Linked DNA regions of Homo sapiens: region 2 is linked to region 1. Evidence: promoter capture Hi-C in human tissues and cell types (Jung and others, 2019). All regions are on one chromosome and are shown on one strand. Each heading gives the region's core, a stretch centred on a gene start or on the middle of the fragment in contact. The rest is flanking DNA. Distances are from core to core; before and after follow the strand shown. Region 1 holds the start of CAPNS2 (calpain small subunit 2). Region 2 overlaps MMP2-AS1 (MMP2 antisense RNA 1).

What was found. The method cuts DNA at HindIII sites, captures the fragments that hold promoters and counts their contacts. A contact is called where the count stands out against the background at its distance.
Region 2: a contact is called between a fragment that was not itself captured here and the fragment with the promoter of CAPNS2 in region 1, in 2 of the 25 tissues and cell types used here (mesendoderm cells and thymus).

The regions. Positions count from the first base shown.
Region 1 is chr16:55,562,198-55,568,285 of GRCh38, forward strand. It overlaps CAPNS2 (calpain small subunit 2), which reads left to right and starts at 4,487. Exons shown (of 1, transcript NM_032330.3): 1 at 4,487-5,490. The coding sequence starts at 4,560. The coding sequence ends at 5,306. The region is part of intron 11 of LPCAT2 (lysophosphatidylcholine acyltransferase 2); the gene reads left to right. The HindIII fragment of the contact is 10,931 bases long and covers 2,069-6,088 here.
Region 2 is chr16:55,441,233-55,447,424 of GRCh38, forward strand. It overlaps MMP2-AS1 (MMP2 antisense RNA 1), which reads right to left. Exons shown (of 7, transcript NR_147198.1): 3 at 5,632-5,716; 4 at 2,881-2,989. Among named protein-coding and RNA genes, the nearest start is that of MMP2-AS1, 18 kb to the right of the region's middle. The HindIII fragment of the contact is 3,141 bases long and covers 1,221-4,361 here.

The sequences.
Region 1 (6,088 bases), core at 3,237-5,736:
TCATTGTACTATTCACCATCTCTTGAATACCTCATATCCTTTAGCTCTTCTGTGTTTTTGCTAGACTGTCCTTTTATATCCCTTATCTATTTGGAGAACTCTGAGACTCAGCCTGTAGTCAGGCCTACACATGATCTCTTCTATAGGTAAATGTTCTCCTTTCCTTTGCCTCAGTAGAATTCATTGATCCCTTTTTGTGTGCCTATACTTGTTTGATATCATAGGACAGTGTACTAGCTGCGTGACCTTGGATAACTAGCTTAACTTTTCTGAATTTTTCTTACCTTATCTAAAATACATTTGTATCTTTCAGAGGAATTCAATGAAACCTAAATACTAAAACATATATATACAAATATAATAGATTAGTATTGATAGTAGAAATGTGAACACAGACTTCATATTATAATTATACCAGTTTCCTGTAGTTCTACTTGATTTTTGAGCACAGCCATCCTGCTTTATTCACCTTTGTAACCTAAGTACTGAGCCCAAGTCCTGATACATAATAAATCAGATTGAATCATTTGAAGTAAGCAAGGGCGATATTATTATTATCATTTTGTAGATTCGAAATTGAGACCCCCAAATGCTAAGTAATATAATGACTTAATCATTAAGTCCTAGCTACTTTTCCCCAAGTTCCCCAGTAGAACTTCCAATAACCTCTGGAGGACCTGTACTCTGACTATAACTAGTATTAAAGGTAGGATTTCTCAAAGTATTATCCAGGCTACCTGTTACAGACTGACTTCTGAAGATGCTTATTAAAAATATAAAATCAAATCTCAAAAATATACTGTTGAGGGGGGAAAAAGCTAGACACATAAAACCAGAAATGAAAGAGAAGACATTGCTACCAATTTTACAGAAATAAAAAGGATGATGAGTGAGTACTACGAACAACTGTATGCCAACAGATTGCATAAGCTAGATGAAATTGTCAAATTCCTACACAACCTACCAAGACTGAATCATGAAGAAGTAAAACATATGAATAGACCTATAACTAGCAAAGATATTGAATCAGTAACCAAAAACCTCCCAACAAAGAAAAGCCCAGGACCAGTTGGCTTCACTGGAAAATTCCACCAAACATTGAAAGAAGTACTAACACCAGTTCTTTTCAAACTCTTCCAAATAATTAAAGAAGAGGGAATACTTTCTGATTCATTCCATGAGGCCAAAGTCAGATAAAAACACTTGGAGAGAAGAAAACTACAGACCAATATGCCATATGAACATGGATGCAAAAATCAACAAAATACTAGCAAACACAATTCAACAGCACACTAAAAGTATTATACACCATGATCAAGTGGGATTTATTCCTGGAATGCAAGATGGTTCAATATATGAAAATCAATTAATGTAACACAGCATATTCTCAGAATGAAGGGGAAAAATCACATGATCATCTTAACAGATGCAGAAAATGCATTTGACAAAATTCAGTACTCTTCCCTGATAAAATCACACAACAAACTAGAAGGAAAGTGCCCCAACATAATAAACACCATATATGAAAAGTTGATAGCTAACATTGTGTTCAGTGATGAAAAGACTGAAAGCTTTTCCTCTAAGATCAGGAATAAGACTAGGATGCCCACTCTCATGCTTCTACTAACATGGTATTGGAAATCATCGCGAGAACAGTTAGGCAAGAAAAAGAAATAAGAGGCATATGAAATAGAAAGGAAGAAGTAAAATTATCTCTGTTAACAAATGATATGATCTTATTTGTAGAAAACCCTAAAGATTACCCCTCACACATACAAAACACAGAACTAATTAAGGGACTTAGCAATGTTACAGGATATGAATCAACACACAAAAATCAGTTGCATTTTATACACCAACAATGAACAATTCTGAAAAGGAAACTAAGAAAACAATTCCATTACAATGGCATAGAAAAAATTAAAATACTTAGGAATAGACTTCAAGAAGGAAGCTAAAGACTTGTACACTGAAAACTACAAAGCACTGCTGAAAGAAATTGAAGAAGAGACAAATAAATGGAAAGATATTCCATGTTTATGGATTAGAAGACAATATTAAGAGTCAGTACTTCCCACAGTGATCTACAGATTTAAAGCAATCCTTTTCAAAGTCCCAATGTTTCTTTACAAAAATAGAACAATCAATCCTAAAATTCATAGGGAATTTCAAGGGACACTGAATAGCCAAAACAATCTTGAAAAAGAATAGCAAAGTTGAAAGCCTGACATTTCCTCATTTCAAACCTTACTTCAAACCTACAGTAATCAAAACAGTGCAGCACTGGTTTCAAGAAAGACATATAAGCCAATGGAATAGAATAGAGATCCCAGAAGAAACCCTTGTGTATATGGTCATATGATTTTCAGCAAGAATGCCAAAACCATTCAATGGGGAAAGGACGGTCTTTTCAACAAATAGTGCTGGGAAAATTATATATCCACATGCAAAAGAATGAAGTTGGACCCTTAACTTACACATATACAAAAGTTAACTCAAAATGGATCAAAGATCTAAACATAAGAGCTGAAACTATAAAACTCTTCAGTGAAAACAGAGGAAAAGCTTCATGACACTGGATTTCTCAATGATTTCTTGAATATTACGCCAAAAGCACAGGCAGCCAAAGAAAAATAGATAAATATGACCACATACAAATTTTAAACTTTTGTGCATCAAAGGACACTAACAACAGAGTGGAAAGGTAACCTACAGAATGAAAGAAAATATTTACAAATTATATATCTGATAAGGGATTAATATCTAGAATATTTAAAGAACTCCTGCAACTCAACAACAAGAAACCCAACAAATAACCAGATTTTAAAATGGCCAAAAGATTTAAATAGACATTTTTCCAAAGATCTTCTTTGGTCAGTAAGTATTAATACATTAAAAGATGCTCAACATCATTAATCATTAGGGTAATGCAAATCAAAACTACAATGTTATACCACTTTACAGCCATTAGGATGGCTATTATTAGAAAACAAAACAAAAGAGAAAATAACAAGTGTTTGCAAGCATATGGAGTAATTGGAACTCTTGTGTATTGCTGGTGGGGATGTAAGTGGTACAGTCAATAAGGAAAAGCGTATGGTAGTTCCTTAAAAAGATAAAAATAGAATTATCATATGATTCAGCAATTCCACTTCTTGGTATATACCCAAAAGAATTGAAAGCAAAGACTCAAACAAATATTTGTATACCCATGTTCATAGCAGCATTATTCCCAATAGCCAAAAGGGCAACCCAAGTATTCACCAATGGGATAATGGAAAAACAAAATGAGTATATTAATGCAATACAATATTATTCATCATTAGAAAGGAAGGGAATTCTGACACATGATACAACATGGATGAATCTTGAAGAAATTATGCTCATTGAAATAAGCAAGTCACAAAAGAACAAATACTGTATGATTCCACTTATATAAGGCATGCAGAGTAGTCAAATCATAGAGCTAGAAAATAGAGAGATGGTTACCAGGGGTGGGGGAAGGGGAGAATGGGAGTTATTCTTTAATGGGTACAGTTTCAGTTTTGCCAGATGAAAAAAGTTCTGAAGATAGCTGGTGGTGATGGTTTCACAATGCAAATATACTTAATGCCACTGAACTCTATACTTAAAAATGGTTAAAATAGTATATTTTATGGCATGTGTATTTTATCACAATTTTAAAACATTTAACATTTTTATAATGAAAAAGGAATAAATGAAAGAGTCTGTACTGTCTGATTTAATTTATTTAAGGTGCAAAAATAAATCTATGGTGTTAGATGTCAGGACAGTGGTTATCCTTGGAAGACGGAAGTAACTAGAAAGAAGTATGAAGAGGCCTCTGAGATGTGTGCAGTCTGTGAAATTCTTTGAGCTATCCATTTGTGATTTATATGATACATTTTTTACATGAATGTTACATTTCAAAAAAGATTTTAGCAATGTCGATCACAGACACCACAGCAGCCCTATGGAATCAGAATCTCTGGGAGTGGAAATTCAGGACCTTGCATTTTAAAAATCTCCCTTCTAAATTTTTCTTAAGACTACTGGATTTTGAGAATCTTTGCTAAAGGAAGAGGATTAAATATTCTTCCAATGCCCAAGATTTCTTCAATTCTATTCTAACAATAAATATTTCTTAGAGAATAAATTTTTGATTTCCTTGCATCATTTACCTTTTTCCTGTTAGGAAAATGCACATCATTTTTTAGGTGCTGAGACAGAGGACTAAGAAATCAATGACATAAAAATGCATACTTTAATATTTTTTCTTTAAAACTATTATCCTAAGGTGTCCTACATACTATAATTTATAAGTATCTGGAAGAGTGAAAACAATTTTATTGAGGCCTTGTAAAATATGGCAGGTGCTAGGACCTCATGGAACTCAGGTATCTTCAGTAGGATGTGAAACATCACATCATGGGGCGTGGTGCAGTGTAAGCAGGTAAAGAAAAGCCAGTTCTTCCACATGTAAACTACTTGAACTCCATTTCATCTTTTTTCATACCATCTCTAAGATTGCTGCCGCATTTGCTTGTTAAACTGAAAGCATGTTTCTTGCAAAGGCTCTATTGGAAGGAGCAGATCGAGGTCTTGGAGAAGCTCTTGGAGGCCTCTTTGGAGGAGGTGGTCAGAGAAGAGAAGGAGGAGGAAGAAATATTGGAGGGATAGTTGGAGGAATTGTGAATTTTATCAGTGAGGCTGCAGCAGCTCAGTATACTCCAGAACCGCCTCCCACTCAGCAGCATTTCACCAGTGTGGAGGCCTCAGAAAGTGAGGAAGTTAGGCGATTTCGGCAACAATTTACACAGCTGGCTGGACCAGACATGGAGGTGGGTGCCACTGATCTGATGAATATTCTCAACAAAGTCCTTTCTAAGCACAAAGATCTTAAGACTGACGGTTTTAGTCTTGACACCTGCCGGAGCATTGTGTCTGTCATGGACAGTGACACGACTGGTAAGCTGGGCTTTGAAGAATTTAAGTATCTGTGGAACAACATCAAGAAATGGCAGTGTGTTTATAAGCAGTATGACAGGGACCATTCTGGGTCTCTGGGAAGTTCTCAGCTGCGGGGAGCTCTGCAGGCCGCAGGCTTCCAGCTAAATGAACAACTTTACCAAATGATTGTCCGCCGGTATGCTAATGAAGATGGAGATATGGATTTTAACAATTTCATCAGCTGCTTGGTCCGCCTGGATGCCATGTTTCGTGCCTTCAAGTCTCTGGATAGAGATAGAGATGGCCTGATTCAAGTGTCTATCAAAGAATGGCTGCAGTTGACCATGTATTCCTGAAGTGGGAACTGAGAAGTCAAGATCCTCCCTGGAGGACAGGACTGAAAACCTTGCCAAGCTGTACACAGTTGCTGATACCCTGTGCAACAGCTCTCATTTCCTGGCAAGCTCTTTCACAACCCTACATATTTCTGATCATGTGCTGCCTTTTACTGCTGAATTAAAACAGATATTTCACGAAAAATGTTCTGAGTGGTTTGTATATCAGCTTTTTGAGATTTGGATTTATATGGACTTGCATATATATGGTGGGGAGGTTGTGGGGTAGAGTTCTAATGGAGTAGATTTTAAAAGGTGTTGCTTATTTAGTGAATAAATTCCAAGGAGTAGGAACTTTATTATTGTTGTTATTGTTGTTAAGAATGAATTTTTTTAATCCTAGAATAAATCAAGAAAGCCCTCAGGAGATACATTTTCCATTTTAAAAAGTTGAGGAGAGAGGTTCAAAATCTGTTTTTCTTGTAATTTTATACCTGGTTTTCCCATTATGTAAAAAAATGAAAAGTGCTTTTTAGGAAACTTATTTAACCATAAAGAAACAGGTTCAGACAATGAAATTAAGCAGTTTTATATAAGGGTAGCATTTTTTTAAATGATGGAGCTACTATCTAAAATTCTAAAGTTCTTTAATTCTGTTTCTTTAGTAAAAAAAAGCACTAGCAATTTTGTTTTGATACATTTGTAAAGAGAGTCAAAGACATTGAGGAATAAAACAATATGCTCATAGTTCAAAAATGTCTCTAGCTGCCTTAATGAATCAAAATGTTTGCTCTTACACGTAC
Region 2 (6,192 bases), core at 1,541-4,040, 120 kb before region 1:
GATATTTCTCAAAGCCCACTCTCTTTAAGCTAGAAATGACCCAGGGTCATCCTGAGAACCTCAAGCGCTGGGCTGGAGGGTGGTAAAAAAGAGATTCTGAAAGAAGTTGAAAGGAGACCTGGGACGTGCCAAAGACACATGCGTCCAACTTTAAAACTGTGTGACTGGCTGGCTATGCATTAGATTGTCCCACTGGGGCAGTTGTGCATTTGTGCTGTTGCATAATACAGAAGGACAAAAAGCATAAATACTAACTGATCACTTCATTCAAAAGAACTTCCCAAAAGGAAGCCAGACCCCTTTGATGCTGCCTTATGCTTAGGCAAAGCTAAAAGTCGTTTTTATACTGTTGGTCAAGGGTTTTTCAACTGGATGCCTGGAAATGTTTTTCACAGATCTACAAAGCATGGATCATACAACAAAGCCTCAAAATATACAGGGGCAAAAATCTAGCTGGGATTGTATCCATTCATATATACAAGTTGGTTCCACCACTGGGTTAATGCTAACTGCTGGAGTCCAGCATCTCTTGTATTAGATATATCTTTATCCGCTGACAGTTGAATTCGATCCACCTGCACATTATTTTGAGGACAGGTGTTGAGAGCTAACCAGTTGCTGGTATAGGCTAGTCTGTTTCCCCCAGAACACAATATTGTCCTGTGCTGTGTAATGGTGTTTCGGTCAATGACAGGCTGCATATATGACAGTGGTCCCATAAGATTATAACGGAGATGAAAAATTCATATCACCTAGTGACACGGTAGCCATTGTAATACTGTAGTGCAATTACTTTATTTTTTATAAATTTAGCATGGCCTAAGTCTACAGTGTTTATAAAGTCTCTAGTGGTATACAGTAATGTCCTGGGCCTTCACCTTCACTCACCACTCACTCACTGACTCACACAGAACAAATTCCAGTGCTGCAAGCTCCATTCACAGTAAGTGCCCTATACAGGTGTACCATTCTCTACTTTTTATACCATAATTTTACTGGACCTTTTCTATATTTACATATGTAAATGCTTACCACGGTGTTACAATTACCTACAGTATTCAGTGTGATACATGCTATACCGGTTTGTAGCCTAGGAGCAAAAGGCTATTCCATATAGCTTATACCATCTAGGTGTGTGTAAGTACACTGTATGAGGTTGGCACAATGATGAAATAGCCTCTCAGAACACATCCCCATCCGTCACCAACACATGACTGTAAAATTCAACATCCAATCATTTGACTGATTTAGTTTAGAAGATCAGAATCTAAAGAAATTTTTTTTAAACTTCTGGAAAAACAGGGGTTAAAATTCTGGCACTTTTCTTCAAACATCAATATTTGTGACTTATTAATTACCAATGGATGATCACCAAACGAGGAAGGATCTTCCCATCAGAGTCTAATTAGTTTCATTGTCTTTTTTTTTTTCTGGATTCCATTGTATTTCACTCTACCCTTCGGCTGCCTGTTTTAATTAATGTTGCACTACATTCAAAGGTTTTGCTTTTGTGCCTCTCTGTTTGATTTAAATTCCTTTTTGCAAATAAATAAATAAATAAATAACTATCAAAGCTAATGAGGCTCTGAAGATTTGAGATGTAAATATCATATGCAGATTCTTTTTTGGTCCCAGCTCAGCGGAAGACCAAAAATAACACTTGAAAGTTTGATTAAGAAATCTCAGGCTCCCCATCTCATGCCTCCCTCCAGACAATCTTTCTGCTGGCATTTTCAGTTATTTGACAAAAAAAAAAAATCAAGCCCCCCAAACCCAAAACCTCAAGAGCAAGCTCCTTTCAAGACTGGCTCAGATGGGCATGGTATTGTGCTGAGCTGCTATTTAAGATCCAGCCCGGACTGACTGATTCCTGTCTGTCCTGAGAGATCTGTGCATGTCAATGCATCCACTCACCACACACACACACACACACACACCTTCATATGCATCCACAGACACACAAAATTATTTTCACACACAAACTCATCCATATTCATACACGCATACCCTCATGCCCACTCACCAATGAAAACTCGAAACACACATATTTCCACACATGCAAACTCATCCATGTTCATACACACATACCTTCATATACACTCACCAACACAAACTCACAACACACATTTTCACACATGCAAACTCATCCATATTCATACACACATACCCTCATACACACTCACCAATAAAAACTTGCAACACAGACATTTTCACACATGCAAACTCACCCATATTCATACACACATACCCTCATACACAGTCACCAACACAAACTCACAACACACACATTTTCACACTCATACGTGCGCGAACTCACACACTGATATACACATACTCACCCACATGTAAGTAGACTCATACACATTCCTGCATGCATTCACACACAGTTTCCATATGCACACACATTCTCCCACACACCTGACACATACATCATGCTTTCGCAGATCAAGTTTCCAGTTTCACATCTGTGTCACCTCCAGTACATTTTCGTACACACCCTCAAAAGACATCTCTGCAAGAAATTCCAAGACTCCCCACCCCCTTCCTGGCCCACCATCGTCCTTTTGGGTGTATTCAGGGGCAGCCTGGGGCACAGTTATTAAACTGTATCCCAAAGAGCTCTTCCACTATGCAATCTGCTTTTGCCTGAGATCTCTGTATCCTTTACTGAGAAAGTCTGATTCATTTCCCAGAAATTTTTATCTGCTATTAATCTTTCAGGATATAGTTAGTGTTGTGATATATTCAGATATTGTTTTTGGGTGGCAGGGGGAGGGGAGGGCAGATTTCAAGTGGCCGTCCCCTGGCAGTTTCAGAGATTACTCAGTGCTTATAAGCAGCTCAGAACTGTGTGACAGCATTTCCAAGCAAGGGACTTACAATCATGTTTCATTAATTCGACGTGAATGAAGCCTCATTTCTGGCCTTGAGGAGCTTAAGATGTATGTGAAATTAATAACAGAACAGATGTCTTCACAATTTGGTTCCTCTGGAAAAAAAAAAAAAAAAGGAACCTGATTACTTTGAAAATTTCAATGCTTTAAAATGCAGACCCAGGGAGTTTTTACTCCAGGGTAAAGAGTTATGCCTTGATATCGTCCACGTCTCATAACTAAGTGGAATTTAAATGTCAGGTTTATATTAAATAGTCATATTCCCCATCATGACATATAATAAACAACAGCTTATTACTTTCATTAATAAGATGTGTTGGACATTTAAACTAAAGCTTTGGAGATAAAGCCTGTACCTCCTGAGCAGGAGGTGCTGGGGAGACACAGGGGACACGTCGGGGAATATTCAGGCAGCCTGGTTTTTAGCTTTCTGATAATTTAATCATTGATTCCTCATAGGAAAACAAAATGCATCTGTGCTCACACAGAACTCACCACTTTATAAAGAAGTTGAGCCGTCTCCCACGGATGTGTGTGCCGGAGGCCGAATGTTGTGTTTCACAGGACACTTGAAGTCCTGCCTCTTTATTATTTCTTCCTGCCTGAAATCTTGTTTCTTTATCTAGGCTTCTGTGACACTAAGTGCCCCTCAAGCTGAATTTTAACTACTCCTCAGGGCGCAAGTGTGACTGCACACCAGGGGGGCTGGGTTTTTATTTCTGAAAGTCCAAAGGGGAACAGTGTAATGGAAAAATTACCCAAAGGGAAGTTATTCTGGAGGAGCAGGAAGAGAGAGCAAAGGCCCCCAGGCACATGGCCAGGAGTTCCCCTTGCCCTGGGTAGACAAGTGAATGAAGCTTTCAGGGGAAAGCAGTGCTAAATGGGGAAGCCCAGGGTTCACGTTAGGTCTCAGAATCTGGTCTACTGTAATGACCATAACAACCACTGTAATGACCCTTCTCTCTTTCCAGGGCCACTACGTGTCCTTGAAACTGTCAACTTCCCCACTTTCCCCCATGGAGAAAACAAGAGCATTAGACCAAATGACCTGCCAGCTTCTCACTTTGACATTCTCCATATCCTCTAAATTTGGCTTCCATGACATTTATTTTACTATGTCTACCTACTCCTCTCCACCTCCTTCCTCTCACAACTGGACTGGGTGTGGGGTGCCATGGTACAGTCACCTCTGCTGATTGCCCCAGATACAAAGGTCAAAAGAAGCTCGCAGGGCAGGAGGTCTTCTCTGGTCCCAGCTCTCCCTAGGGATGTGGCCTGGGGTAAGATGCATGCTGTGGGTGCCAGGCGTGGTGGCTCAAGATGCATGGTGTGGGCACCGGGCGTGGTGGCTCGTGACTATAGTCCCAGCACTTTGAGAGGCCAAGGTGGGAAGATTGCATGGAGTTTGAGACCAGCCTGGGCAACATAGTGAGACTCTGTCTCCACAAACAAAAAGAAGGCAGGCATAGTGGCACATAGCTGTAGTCCCAGCTACCTGGGAGGCTGAGCTGGGAGAATCGCTTGATCCCAAGAGGTCGAGGTTGCAGTGAGCTGTGATTGTGCCACTGCACTCTAGTCTAGGTGACAAAGCAAGAGCCTATTTCAAAAAAAGAAAAAAAAAAGATACACGGTGTGTTTGACCCTCGGATTTTTTATGTGAAAAGGGGTGGAATGACCCTCACCCAGGACTGTCATGAGAATGATATGAGCTGGTGCACATGCGTTTGGTACAGAGCATAGAAGCATAAAAGCTCCTGTTAGTGTTCACAGCTAGGGATCTCAAGCAATGTGCAGGAGAGAGGTATCCCGGGGTGACTGCACTTTTAGAAACTCCCTGGGCACTGGTGTTGAAGGAGCATTGTCTAAGTCTTCCTTATTCTTGACTGATATGGGGGCTGTGTGTGCACAGCAGTAGAGACCCGGGTCAGGATGCGGAAGGCGGGCCCCATCCAAGGGAGTGGGGGCAGCTCAGTGTCAGGCACTTATCACCCTGGGTGTGTATCCCAGTGGCGCTACGTAGCAATGCCAGGCCTTCTCCCTCTTCAGGGAAACCAGGAATGTGGAATTTTATGTGAAAGCTTCTAAGTTTTGAGTAGAGATCACTACAAGTCTGCACGCCATTCCTTGAAACCACTGGGGTCAGTGGTATTTCAGTATTTAAATTTTCAGATTTAAAAATATTATACAATGAGATCACCATTTATAACGTGACATCTCCAAGGGGGGTCTGGGAAAACATGTCACAGCCAAGCCCATTAATAATTTGGCATCAAAATAATTATACTCATGAAGAGTGGTGAGACATGGGACTCAACACTTTCTCTCCTTGTGGGGACCAGGCCAAGCCCCCACCACACTGGCAGAGTCAAGGCGACTGTGGCTGAGGCCTTGTGACCCAGTTTCCTGCAGCCAGCCCCACTCACTCCCAGGAGAATCATAGAAGCCATAAAGCTTTGGGATTCCTGAACTGAAAAGGCCATGACAACCACTGTGTAAACCCCATAAACACTGCATAAGGTCACCACACAGCTCCAAGTGACAGAATCCCAAGCCAAATAGGCTTAAATGAAGAACAGCAATAGCAATCAAGTTTATTAGGTTATAGGAGAGAAAAGTACAGAGGTGTCTGTTCAGGATCACCTGGATCCAGGTGCTCCAACAATGGCCCCTGGAGTCAGTTTTTATCTCTCTGCTCCACGTTTGGCTGTGTTGCTTCCTTACTCACACAGATACTTACCTCATGGTAGCAAAAAGGCTGCCAGAAGCTCCAGCTCCACATATTTCTGGGATTGGTCCCCTGGGAAACAGCATCTGTTCTGTCCCTAGAACAAAAGCCATGGGTTATCGCTAGGGCTCTGAAGGGGTCCTTTGCCCATCCTGGAGCCAATCACAGCAGTCTAGGTTCCCCGCCGGCCTGGAACTAAGGATAGGTTCCTTCTGGCCCATTCTACCCAGAGTTCAGAGCCAGAGAAACTGAATGGAGGCCTGGGTGGGGGCAAAACCGTAGGTGTCTATTACCAGGGTGACTCAGGAAACCCTTTCATTTCAGCAGAGCAGACAATGAAACTAAGAGAGGAGGTGAGATTTGGCCAGAGTCACACAGCAGGGTCACTGGCAAAGTCAAGGTTGTGACCCCGACATCTCACGGTTTGGAAATCCCTGCATTGTACCACATGTGATTAGTGGAGCCTGCTTGGAAGCCTTCCCCCATTTCCTATGTCTCCTCTCCCCCCGAGGGGGAAGAGATGAGGAAAACCAATATGCTAACAAGCACACGCCCCCATGAGCGTGCACGCGC